Linked DNA regions of Homo sapiens: region 1 is linked to region 2. The links are contacts of gene promoters, found by promoter capture Hi-C in blood cells and fetal thymus (Javierre and others, 2016). All regions are on one chromosome and are shown on one strand. The core of a region is centred on a gene start or on the middle of the fragment in contact, and the rest is flanking DNA. Distances in the headings are between cores, read along the strand shown. Region 1 holds the start of ACSL5 (acyl-CoA synthetase long chain family member 5). Region 2 holds the start of PDCD4-AS1 (PDCD4 antisense RNA 1).

Region 1 (6,904 bases), core at 4,198-6,697, 1.5 Mb before region 2:
GATGGAGCCAAATGGAAGTGGAGAAGGGGAATGGCCAGATGTGCTAGAGGCACTAAAGTGGGACAAGTGGGACATTTAGGGGAGGGAAATGGTGAAGAGGTATTTCTGCTGGAGGTGGAGGGTCCATCTTTAGTTAAAAGGTTGGGGGGCGGGGGGTGGCAGGGGGAAGAAAAAGTCTCCAAGGATGAATGAGATGGTGTGTGGGGCCCAGTGTAGACACTGCACCTCTGGAGCCATTGCCTTCACATACTCCAGAGAGCCTGGGTGGGGCCAGACATTGGCCAGTTGAGCTGAGTAGCATTTATCAGGAGATCTCATGTTAAGTCAAATACCAAGAGCCTCTTAAGTCAGTCCATTAAGATAGCATAGGATAGTTGAGTCACCCACAGGATGTGACCCCAGAAGTGACAAATCCCACAGGAGCTCAGGTCGATAGAGTCAACCTTGATCCACCACTGGGCTTCAAGTGAGTCACAGTCCAAATCCCGACCCCGGGACAACTTGTGTCAGTAACACCCCCAAAGGGCATCCCAGGCCTGCTGCTGACCAAGTATATTATGACAGAACTGGGGTAAGAAGAAGCAGTGTCAGAAGTCCACTGGATCTGATAAGGGGGTCTGTAAAAAGATAGGCCGGACAAAGTGCTAGGACCCTGTCACCTGTGCCAGGGTGAGGCAAGAGGTTGGGAAAGCAGACTTCTTGCCTTAGTTTTCTGCAGAATCAGCCCTTGCACTGCCTGTCCCAACCAGTGGTCAAGGGTCAACAGTTTCAAAGTGCAGGCAACAAGCTTTCTTGTCAACGGTGTCATTGCCAGGGGCAAACTTTCAAGGTCGTGCCCTTCCAGGTACCAGAGCAACAGCTCCTCACTTACTACATGTGTAGCCCTGGGGACAGTTACTTAGAGTCACTGAGCATCAGTTCCCCGCCACTGTACACAGAAGGAGCAGGTGAAAATCGCTACTTAAAGGAGATGCTGTGTGTAGAACAGTTGGTATGCTGTCAGGCACATGGGAAGTCCTCAATCAAATCTAGCTCCCCTTTCCTTCCCTTTTCCTCAGTTTTCACATCCTTGCCAATATCAGATGTTCTATTACGAGATGTCCCAAAAGAAAAGAGATGACCACGGTCTTGAACGATTACTGCCCCTCCACTTCTGTGCAAAGGTTTTAACAAGCCCTCATCTCTTTTTTTTTTTTTTCTTTTTTTTGAGATGGAGTTTCACTCTTGTCACCCAGGCTGGAGTGCAGTGGCGAGATCTCAGCTCACTGCAACCTCCGCCTCCTGGGTTCAAGCGATTCTCCTGCCTCAGCCTCCCGAGTAGCTGGGATTACAGGCAGCTGCCACCACGCCCAGCTAGCTTTTGTATTTTTAGCAGAGATGGGGTTTCACCATGTTGGCCAGGCTGGTCTCAAACTCCTGATTTCAAGTGATCTGCCTGCCTCGGCCTCCCAAAGTGTTGGGATTACTGGCATGAGCCACTGCGCCCGGCCAACAAGCCCTCATTTCTATTTAAACAGAGCACTTCTAGTTGTAGGGAACCATGGCCTGTCTCTGACCTAGCTTTACCCCAGACCTCAAATCCTCAACTTGAGCCACTCGCAACCTCACAACTCTTAGAATAGAATGGCCCATGAAGACTGGGAGATCCACCAGCTTCCCCAAAGAAGGCTAATAGTGTGGCCTGACCACAGCATTGCACGGGCTGTCTGACCTTCCAAACTCCAGATCTCATGTATTTATTCAAACAATGAGTTGAGAACCTAGGAAGTGTCAGGCCCTGCGCCAGGGAGGACAAGTTGGTGAGAGAGTCCCTTTCCGACCTCAGGATGTACAGACATAGAGGGGAGAAATAGACCCAGATGCATTTCCAGCAGAATGTGATAAGCAGTGATGGCTGGACTCATGGCTGCTGGGGTTACGTCACCCTTGCTTGATGCTGCCAGGCACAAGAGTCACCTCTGACTGCACTCCAGCTGAGGGTCTGCTCATCTGCTGAGGAGGCATATGAGAGACAGACAGGAGCAGACACTGTATTCCTGGTTTCTAAGAAGCTGGCAAATCCTATAGGCCAGGTGCAGTGGCTCACACCTGTAATCCCAGCACTTTGGGAGGCCTAGGCAGGCAGATAACTTGAGGTCAGGAGTTTGAGACCAGCCTGGCCAATATGGTGAAACCCTGTCTCTACTAAAAGTACAAAAATTATTTGGGCATGGTGGTGCATGCCTGTAATCCCAGCTACTCAGGAGGCTGAGGCAGGAGAATTGCTTGAACTGGGGAGGCAGAGGTTGCAGTGAGCCAAGATGTTGCCACTGCACTCAAGCCTGGGAGTCTAGGTGACAGAGTGAGGCTCCTCCAAAAAAAAAAAAAAAAAAAAAAAAAAAAAAACAAGAAGAAGAAGATTGTCTTGATTAAATATAAGAGTACCTACTGTGTACTGGTACTTCCCTGGCTTCATCTTCCCTCTCTCCATTCATTTCTCTCTCCTTCCTCCATCTCCAGCCTCCATGTAGTATCTGTGGTCTCACTATAGGTGGATGGTTAGGTATGCAATGACACGCTGATGTTGTTGTTGGTGTCTTTGCCCTCAAAAAATTACAATATAGCCTGGGAGAGACTATTTTAGGTCAGGCTAGGCTGAAATATTCTGTTTGGTCTGGATTAAAAAGTGTTTTCTCTTTTTTAATAATTAAATTTGAATGCATTTATCTGGGGTATGCCTGCTCTGAATTTTGCTAAAGTTTCCACCATTAGCATCTTATTACACACCATCTACTTTACTTCTCTATATTACTTGCCTGTCCTATAAGCATTTGCACTTACACTTCTTGTTTTATTTAGGTTTTTGTTCCTTTTATTATGCCAAATACACAAAAGATGGCTATAAAATTTTACACCATGCCTCTTTCAAGACATGTTCTGTGTTTAACCTTGAATACTGATCAATCGGAGGGGACTACCACAGAGTGACTCCATATCAGAATATGAAGGGAGAAATAAACAAAACCAATTACTCCTTTTTTAAAAGAAAACTAAGTCAGTTTTCAATGTTTTTTTATTTGTTTGTTTGTGTGTTGTTTTTGAGCCAGAGTCTTGCTCTGTCATCCAAACTGGAGTGCAGTGGTGCCATCTCGGCTCACTGCAACCTCCGCCTCCTAGGTTCAAGCAATTGTCCTGCCTCCTGAGTTGCTGGGATTACAGGCGTACGCCACCACGCCAAGCTAATTTTTGTATTTTCAGTAGAGATGGGGTTTCGCCATGTTGGCCAGGCTGGTTTCTAACTCCTGACTTCAGGTGATCCACCCACCTCAGACTCCCAGAGTTCTGGGATTACAGGTGTGAGTCACTGCGCCCGGCCTTAACTTTATTTTTTAAGACTCTGCCTCTGATATAGAATACTAATCACCTACACATTGGAGCTATAGATTCAATTCTACCTTTCAGACCACCAAAAAAAGGCTGATATCTCAGAAGGTACCAAGCCCCGGTGGTAGAGTCCCTTTCCAGTGCTTATTCCCTGAGGGTCTCCGGTGGTAGAGTCCCTTTCCAGTGCTTATTCCCTGAGGGTCTCCGGTGGTAGAGTCCCTTTCCAGTGCTTATTCCCTGAGGGTCTCCAGTGGTAGAGTCCCTTTCCAGTGCTTACTCCCTGAGGGTCTTTGAGATTCACCTTAGGACCCTCAGGGAGTGGGCATTGGGAAGGAAGTACTTAGGAATTAAGCAGCACCTGAGACTTAACCTGTGGCCTTACTTCCTAAAATACACTCAGCTCCATTCATCTGTCTCTCCCACCCCATTGGTCTCATTCATCAGTCTTACCCAACATAAAATTGAGGGCAAACCCCCAGCCCACCTCAGGGGAGCTATGCTGGATGCTCAGACCCACAAAAAGAGGTCTCTGTTTTGGTTCACCTTCCCCAAGAGAGTCGAGAGAAGGAAAGTGAGCCCCATGCATGCCCCACATCCTTCCTTCCCGTTGCTCCTCCTGACACAGGGTCTGAAGGCATGACCGAGACCAGGAGGGAGACAGCATGATGTGCCCGTGGAACTCAGCCGGCCCTTGATTCTAAGTCGCTTAAAGAAAGTCGGGGGTCAGGATGCCCCCTTGGCCTCTGTCACACCCTCACAAGACCCCCTTGCTGAATAACACCCCCTCGATGGTCCCCTTACCCTGCGAGGGGGCCGCATCTCTCAGTGCTTCTAGTGAATGGGGGCTTCCCGGCTCTGAGTTCTTCCTGCCACACGAGTCCCTGTCCTTCTTCCCTCGCTCGTGGTTCCTCCAGAGACAGGGTGGCTTCAGAGCGTCCATGCAGGCAGAAGGCCGGCCCAGAGTGTCCCCAGTTCTGCCCTGCTCTGAGCTGTCCCGAGTCAGGCCATGTCAGGCTTTCTAACGTGCTCGGGGACTTCACTTCCTGGTTTTAATTTTTTTTTTCACAACTGAAAGTGGAAGTGTTCTGACCAGGAGGGGAGAAGCTGCCAAAGCTACCCTGGCTCCGTGTCAAAGCCTTTCACCTCAGCCCCTAAGGGCCGACACAAAAGCCAGCTTGCCTCAACACAGTTGACCCTGCCCTCCTGTGGCCTATCATCTTTCAACTAAGATGAAAACAAACAAACTAAAATGACTTGAGGTGCCCCCTCAGATCAGAAGCCTCACAGAGGCAGAGGTGACGCTGTTCCCTGCTGGATTCGGAGGACAGGAAAGTCTGGCTAGAGGGTACCTCAGCCCTCAGACCCACACAAACACCTTCTACCCCGCCTCTCTCCAGTCGCCAGAGCTGCCTGCCTTGGTCTCTGAAGAAGTTCTGGCAAAGCCAAGAAAATAAGCAAGTCAGGAACGACAGGGCTGTGAGTCGTTCAATTGGCATGGTTTCTTTCCCTCTGATACAGTCACACCTCAAAACTTAACTTAAAAATCGATTCTTTCGCCTTGGTCACCCCCAGTATTACCAGGACCTGTATTAGTCTCATTTTTGATCCGCCTAAGGCTGTGGCTACAGGGGGGCCCTGGAGCTACCATTCTCAGATTAGGAAGCCGAAATGACAAATTTTCCTGCCCCTTCCCCACCTCACAGATACCTCAGAATGAAGCAGCACTTTCTCCAGCCTCGATCCCCCACGAAGGCTCACAGGAAGTTCAGCATGATCCTGGCTCTTTGCTGGAGCTAGATTAGGGTTTGTTCTTTCTACAGAGCAGTTCTTAAAAGCTTCCTACTAAGGAAGCCAGGGTGAGCTGTGCCACAGTCTCAGAGAACACAAGAGCTGAGCCCTTGGCCTCTGGGGAGCCGCCTTTGGACATGGAAGAAAGATGAAGGGCTGGGAGACGAAGTGGGGCCTGTGGCATTCCATCCTCTGGCTCATCTCACGGCTGGAGGAGCACTTGTCATTTGCTTAGTTTCAGGAACTCAGCTCCCCAAGAGGCAACTTCCTCTAGAGGAGAGCAGAGGATGGCAGAGTGGGTGTCGAATCTCAGCCACACTAATACCTCTGAGCCCTTCACCGGGTGCTGTCTTCCTTCACCAAAGGGCTCAGGGCCAGGGGAAGATGAGGTTTTATTTCTTTTTTTTTTATTGACCTCCTCCAGTAAAAATGCTCAAGTTCAGGAAGGTTGAGTCATTCTAAAGGCCCATCAGAGTTGTATTCCTATCAATCCTCTGTGCACATGAGTGACACCCTCAGGATTTCAGGGGGTAACTGAAAGCTTTGGCAACCCACAACAATTCTGCATTATTGGGCAGGCTGTGGAAACTGACCAATCAAGTCTCAAATTCTAGCCACACCACCTTGGAGCTATGTAGCTTAGGCCATGCTGTTTAACAGCCTGGAGACGCACTATGCCTCTGTGAAATGGGAAGGATACCACCTGCTTTATAGGATGAGATACACCAATGAAGTAACATACATAATCTACCCAGAACAGTCCCCAGCACCTAATCGAATATCTGCTGATTCCCTTCCTCTCTGTCTGCCAAATGGGACTCTCTGCCCTCAGCAGCTGACGCACGATCCTTCTAACTACACTGAGACAGAAATTTCTTAATGGAAGATGAAGGAGACCCACATTCTGGCTTGGTGTGCTTTAGTACACTTACCAAAATCAGTGTTCCCTTCCAATTCCATCCCCTGCTAGCATTTGGATAGCTCATATATCTCCACCCCTTTTCCAACTGATTTTTTTCTTTGCCTCCCACACAAGTCAGCTGAGATTACTATTCAACTAAATGTAATTTCATGTTATTAAAGAGCCTTAGGTTGAGCATAACAAATCCCACTTTCTTTCCCCACACCAATCCCCTCCCTACTATCTCACAGATATATTCAATATAGTGCAGGTAGTATCATTGCAGCTTACCTTGGAAGAAGACTCTCCCTTCCTGGGTCCAGGAAGTGCTCCCCTCACAGCTGGCTGTATTGATTCAGCACCACATTCAGGCACTTCTACTCTTTCCACAGCTCCTAGGACTGACTGGGACACACCCGAAGCTACTGTGTACTGTCCTGAGAGTGGCCAACACACTCCCCTGGAACCTTTGAATCTGTCACAACAGAAGTTCAAAGGTAGAAGTTACCTGTTCAAACACTTGTAGTAACCTCTGACAGTAAGAAAAGCAGTGTTGGGCAAAAGATTAAAACAAGAGATTGTTATGCAATGGGCTTAAGCGGGAAAAAAAAAAAAGACGGCCCTTAGTTCAGAAAGCTAACGTTTACCAAGAGAAACCTTCGATAAAGCTCTACCTCAGGGGAAGGAGAAGGGGTAGACAGGGCTTTGCATCTGCTTTGGGGGCACAATCCTTGAGACTGTGATAGGAAGAGGAAGGTCTAGATTACTAGAAGAAAAAGGGCTCCTTGAGATCAGAGTGAGAGAAAAATGAGAAGCCACTTTAATTGGCTCAAGCTATAACTTTAGGATTCA
Region 2 (6,132 bases), core at 1-2,500:
AGGCCCGGACCTGACAGGACCGCGACCCCCACGCCTCCGCCCCCGCCCCCTCCCATCTTGCGGCTGCCTCCGAGGAGGGATGGGGGAGAGGGCGCAGTCTTCCCGAGCGTGTGAGCCGCGCCTACTGGTACTGACCCCTCGGGCCCCCGCCGCTGCTCGCCCAGGTTCCTGGTCAGCCGGCCCCGACCCCGCTCTTCTGTCTCTGCCGCCGCCTCGGAGAGTCTCTGGCCCTTCTCGCTCTGTTTGTTTTTGTTTTCTTCTACCCAGTAACACGGGGGCGAGAGGGCGGCGCTTATTGGCCGAGGCCGGGTGGTCGGCTGGCCAATCGTGGCGGCGGAGCCGGAGCTGAGGAGGAAAAGGGAGAGGAGTGAAACGTGGAAAGTTGGGGAGGGGCGCGGGAGGGCGCATGCGCATGTGGCTCCTGGGACTGGCTGGAGCGGGAGTTGAGCGGGAAGTCGGGGTGGGGGTATGTTGGGAGGCGTGGCGGGATGGGAGCGTTGGGAAAAGGGCAGTGCTGGGGGATGGGGACGAGGATGAAGCTTCCTCGACCCAGCTCACCCATTCTCCTCACAGGGCGTTCTGCAAACTCGGCTGAAGCAAAGGTTTTGAGCTTCCTGATGGTCCCTGCCTCCATTTCTAGAAACTGCTTAGGCGAACACTCCAAGTGATCAGCCTGTCCGATTCCTCCTCCCTCTGGCCGCTGCTTTCTCTGTGGCTTCCAGTTTCTGGAGATCCCATGCTAAGAAGTTTCTCTCAGCGAATCCCCTCAAACCTTTGAGATGGAAATAATTCCCATTTCACAGATATAAAGCAGGCTCCAAAACTCTTTGAAGTTCCTTTGCTAATCATGACTAGCCAAGCCTCTGGCGTTCAAACGCACAAATTCCGGCCTCCAGTGCTGGGGTTCTCAGCCATGGCTACAATTTCTGTATTGAAACTTCCACCTCCCCTCGCTGTTCTCTGTGACTTTTCCTCTTGGCTGCATTGGTTTTGGCTGGTACTATCCTTACTCTTTCAAGGTCACGGTCCCCTGAGGGTGATAACCAGAACCTTAGGCTTCCTTTGTGTTCCCAGGCGGGGACTTAGCCACTGCCTCTGATCAGATTTTTCAGTTGTCTGATGGGCAGCACCGAATGATTGCTTGTGCTCTCCAGAACCCAACTGCCTCATCCCGCACAGGCCAGCGCTTTCCCTTGGCTGCCCAGTCACCCTGCCTGGGAATCATCTCTAATGCTACTATTTCTCTGCACACACACGCACACACACACACACAAACCTTCACTGGCTTCCCATTGCCTCTCTTGAGTGTCAGCGCCTCGGTCGGTCATTCAAGGCTCCGTGATGTGACTTCAAGACTTTCAGGCTGTGTCTCCACACATCTCCCCATATGCTTCCTCACCCCCTGGTAGTTCTTTATATATCACCTTGAAATGTCTCTCTTCTCATCTCCTATCTCCGCCTGATGCAATCCTTCTGTGCCTCATGGCCCTTCCTGGTAGTTTTTTATTTTGTTGTTGTTGTTGTTTTATTTAATTGAGGCAGGGGCTTGCCCTTTAGCCCAGGAGAATGCAGTGGCATGATCACAGCTCACTGCTGCCTCGACCTCCGTCAGCCTCCCTAGCTCAACGATCCTCTCACCTCAGCCTCCTGAGTAACTGGGACTACAGGCACAGCTCACTATGCCCAGCTAATTTTTGTATTTTCTGTACACACAGGGTTTCATCATGTTGTCCAGGCTGGTCTTGAACTCCTGGGCTCAAGCAATCAGCCCACCTCTGCCTCCCAAAGCGTTGAGATTACAAGCGTGAGCCACCATTCCTGGACCCTCGTAGTTTTTCTGGAGCCTCGTGATTTGATATGATCTTCCTGCCGCTGATTCCTCACAGTGTTGGCTTGCCACACCTCCAGGGGCACTGATCACATTCTACCTGGCATTATTTCATCTGAGTCCCTGTCCTAGCCCTTCTGCCCATTAGACTGTAACCTTGTTTAGGGAAAGACCTGTGTCTTACTCATCTGTGATTTTGTTGTTGTTGTTGTTTTGAGACAGGGTCTTGCCCTGTTGCCCAGGCTGGAGAGCAGTGGTGCAATCTTGGCTCACTGCAGCCTCAACCTGTTGGGGTCAAGCCATCCTCCCACCTCAGCTTTCCAAGTAGCTGAGACTACAGGCCTGTGCCACCACACCCAGCTAGTTTTTTGTATTTTTAGTAGAGATGGGGTTTTGCCATGTTGCCCAGGCTTCTCTTGAACTCCTGAGCTCAAGGGATCTGCCTGCCTCGGCCTCCCAAAGTGCTGGGATTACAGGCGTGAGCCACTGTGCCTGACCCACTCACCTGTCATTGTAGTACTTAAGATGCCTTGTTCATTTATTGTGCCTGTGCAATAAATACACCTTGATTTGAGTTTACAAAGATTCTCAGCAGTTGGTGGTCATCCTCATCTCCTGGGCGGGGGCCTCCTGGTGTGGCCAGTATCTGAATTAGTCTCATAACTCATGTTCACTTTTTAAAATCGGAGCTTCCCAGACCTCAGTTTTGTTTTGTTATTTTCCATTATCTGCAGCTGTCTCCTTTCCCCTCTCTCACCTATACTCTACTGATCAGTGACTGCTGGCTCCTTTGTTACCCATCCTTCTCTTTCTCCACATTTTTTCTCTTCTCATCCCTTTCAGTTCTGGACTGTTTCCTTCTTCCTCCCTGTCTTTCATTTAGTCATTCATTGAATGTACTTACTAAGCACATATAGCATAATCAGGCTGTGTTGGGTAGGCATCCCGAGTTCTATGAGATAAAGAAAGAATGGGATATGATTACCAATTTTAAGAAGCATCTAAAACAACCTGTTATGTTTTAGCAAATTGCCCCCAAAGGACCCATTAGGGAGGAAAACGTTCATGTCCTTTTTGCGTATCATCTCAAGCAGTACCCATGATGGCTGGGATCCCAGAACCCACCTTTGAGAATGCTGCCGTATTTGCGTGTGGTTGACAAGGTTGGGCCAGACACTCAGGAAATAGGGTTGTCGTCCTACCTCCCCCACTAACTTCCTGTAAGAACTTCAGCCCCTCTCAGGACCTTTTTCTTTACCAATAAAATTCAGAAATTGGGCTCAATCAGTAATTCCCAAGTTATTTTCCAAAGAACATGAATTTTGTGGAACTTTAATAGATATCATGCAAAAAAAAATGTGGGAGGGATTGTTCCATGGTCAAATGGTCTTGGAAATAACTCGTTTAAACAAAAATAAAACTGTTTCTTTACCCACAACTCTTCTCAGTGGTTTTTTGTTTGTTTGTTTGTTTTTTGAGATGAAGTTTTGCTCTTGTCGCCCAGTTTGGAGTGTAATGGCACTATTTTGACTCACTGCAACCTGTGCCTCCTGGATTCAAGTGATTCTCCTGCCTCAGCCTCCCCAGTAACTGGGATTATAGGCGCCTGCCACCACGCCTGGCTAATATTTATATTTGTAGTAGAGTTGAGGTTTCACCATGTTGGCCAGGCTGGTCTCGAACCCCTGATCTCAAGTGATCTGCCCTCCTCGGCCTCCCAAAGTGCTGGGGTTACAGGCATGAGCCACCGTGCCCAGCCTTCTCAGTGTTTTTAATAAGCTATGTGCCTTTAGTGTCTTGGGAGACCAAGGTAGGAAGATTAGTAATGTTTCCTACCTTGTTTAAACACAGAACCTTTTTTTCTCAAGATACCCCAGAAGCAGTGTTATTTAGAAACCAACTTGGGAAATATAGATGACAGCCACTGTCACCAACATTCCTTCCAGCTGTGTTGAACACTTAGTCACCTGTGCCTTTGCAGCTGAACATTTAACAAAAAAAATTTTTTTAAGAATAAGCTGAAAATGGAGAAGTATCCAAGTGCCAAGAATTTTTGCCTACCAAATCAATCCACAAATATTTTAGTGTGTGCCTGTTCTATGAAAAGCACAGTTGATTCAGCTGTGTTCTTGGTAAAAGGCATTATACTACTTTAGGGTAGGTAATATCTGAAGCCTAGGGCTGCCCGGGCTTCTGGGCCACAATGTATGTTTTCATTTCACGTTGTAATTGTCACAAACTAGGTTTCTGTTACCTGAATCCCTGTGCCTATGGGCTTATGTTAATTTAGCTATTAGATGACAGAAAAGGAGAGAGGCCTTCCCCTTAACTCACTCTATACAGAATAATGGAATTGCAACTTCCATTTCCCTTAAGAAAGATTCATTCCAAGAGCTTAGGAGAGGAAGGGAGATCACAGTTGCCCAGAACAAGACAGCTGCTCAGAGGTGGCAACAGAAACTCTGTGCTTTGTGAGTAGATAAACGTTACATACTTCATCTTCCCCGTACTCCTCAGGCTTAAGCAGTATTGAGATACTTGGAGGGGCGCAAAGAGTGTTTGGTTTTGTCAGGGGAGAGGGTGGGAGATAGTTCCTATTTTTCGCCTCTTAAGACAAGGTAGTGACCCTGTCCCTAACTAGCTGTGTTGCTTTGGGTGTTTCACTTCCTCTCCCTGAGTGAATTGAATGCTTCAATTTTCTGTGCTGTAAAAGAAGGAGGTGCCCATTGCAGGGAGTCCATAAGCAGCCATTCAGTTCTAACACCCTGGGATGCTGAGCAAGGTACTGAGTTGGTACCATGGGAGTCCTGGGAATGGAGAACAAGAGATAAGAAAGTTTGCTGGCCGGGTGTGGTAGCTCATGCCTGTAATCCCAGCACTTTAGGAGGCCAAGGTGGGCGGATCACTTGAGGCCAGGAGTTTGAGACCAGCCTGACCAACATGGTGAAACCCCATCTCTACTAAAAATACAAAAAAATTAGCTGGGCGTGGTGGTGCATGCCTGTAGTCCCAGCTATTCAGGAGACTGAGGCAGGAGAATCTCTTGAACCTAGGAGGCGAAGGTTGCAGTGAGCTGAGATCCCGCCACTGCACTCCAGCCTGGGTGACAGAGACAGACTCCACCTCAAAACAAACAAACAAAGGAGTTTGCCACTGTTGGCAGGAGAGGATTCCACCGGGTATGGACAGAGGGACTGTCAACCCAGGGGCTTTCTCCTAATGCAAAGCTCAGATAATATCACCTCCCTCCATCCCAAAGGCAAAGTGATGGCTGGTGTGGGTTTAGGAGCACTAATTAATTAATTTGGGTAAAGTACTTGAAAAAGCACAGTTGAAGGCAAAAGATAAGCACCTAGATTTACTATTAATGCCTTTGGAACTCTCCAAGGCCTTTTCATTCTTAGGGTAAAGCCTCATTTGAGAGTTCTGTTTCTTAATAAGAAATGGTCATGCCCCTAAATGAAATTGAGGAGAATTTGTCTTTCTGGGGGCTAAGGGTAGGTCTTAGCCCACTTCCTTCCTAAGAAATTTTAGATGCTGCTGTCATTTGCAGCAACTTCATCTACCTGAACTGACGCCTTGTCTCCTTTTGTCAAACCAAAGCCTGAATTTTGAGAATTTCTCTAAGGCAAAAATTGCACTTTAGCACAAATGGTAAAAGATATAAAACATGTTCTGAAGAAAGAGCTGCATAAAGAATTCTTATAATAATGATGATAGCTGACATTTGTGTTGGCCTAAGATTTACTGAGCACATGTGCATAGACTTTCACCACCTCCCTATGAAGTGGACAAGATTCTGTGCTTTAAACATGAGGGAAATAATGAACCTTGAGCAGGTCACTGGTAATCATGGAACTTTTATACTGAAAGGAAATTTGGGGATTCCCTAGTCCAAACCTTTTATTTTACAAATGGAGAAACAGATTCAGAGAAGTTAAGTGGGTCACCTAAAGCCACACAGCTAAGTTAGTAGCTGAGCCAGAAGTACATATGAGATCTCTGCCCAGAGTTGTAGGGAATGTGCAGACCAGGAATCCAGACCTTCTGGCACCCAGGCTGGGCTGGACTTTCCCTCACATGCCTCTTGATTGACAGTTAAATTTCTGGGTCCTAGAGGCTCCTGGTATCAGATGAATCCATCTCAGGGGCCTGAAAGTGGGGAAGAGGGAAAGGGTAGTAAGCATTGTACAACGTTTAGAAACCCTTCAAGGGGCATTTCTTGCATGTCTTTCCTGGGGTAAAAAGCAAGCACAGAGTAATGTGAAGCATAGTTCAAAAAATAGATGCAATATTTTACTGTG

The links. Contacts are between HindIII fragments. The CHiCAGO score rates a contact against its expected background, and 5 or more counts as called.
Region 1: a contact is called between a fragment that was not itself captured here and the fragment with the promoter of PDCD4-AS1 in region 2, in 2 of 17 cell types (M0 macrophages and M1 macrophages). The highest score is 7.3, in M0 macrophages.

What each region holds. Positions count from the first base shown.
Region 1 is chr10:112,373,709-112,380,612 of GRCh38, reverse strand. ACSL5 (acyl-CoA synthetase long chain family member 5) reads right to left here and starts at 6,497. Exons shown (of 21, transcript NM_203379.2): 1 at 6,344-6,497. RefSeq lists enhancers at 3,764-4,264, 4,287-4,506, 4,265-4,765, 4,647-4,796. The HindIII fragment of the contact is 494 bases long and covers 5,201-5,694 here.
Region 2 is chr10:110,866,022-110,872,153 of GRCh38, reverse strand. It overlaps PDCD4-AS1 (PDCD4 antisense RNA 1), which reads left to right and starts at 1,250. Exons shown (of 1, transcript NR_026932.1): 1 at 1,250-3,264. PDCD4 (programmed cell death 4) reads right to left here and starts at 226. Exons shown (of 12, transcript NM_014456.5): 1 at 136-226. LOC124902500 (a long non-coding RNA gene) reads right to left here. Exons shown (of 2, transcript XR_007062288.1): 2 at 5,706-5,980. RefSeq lists silencers at 1-33, 64-113, 4,366-4,435 and enhancers at 1,118-1,728, 4,556-4,605. The HindIII fragment of the contact is 8,654 bases long and covers 542-6,132 here.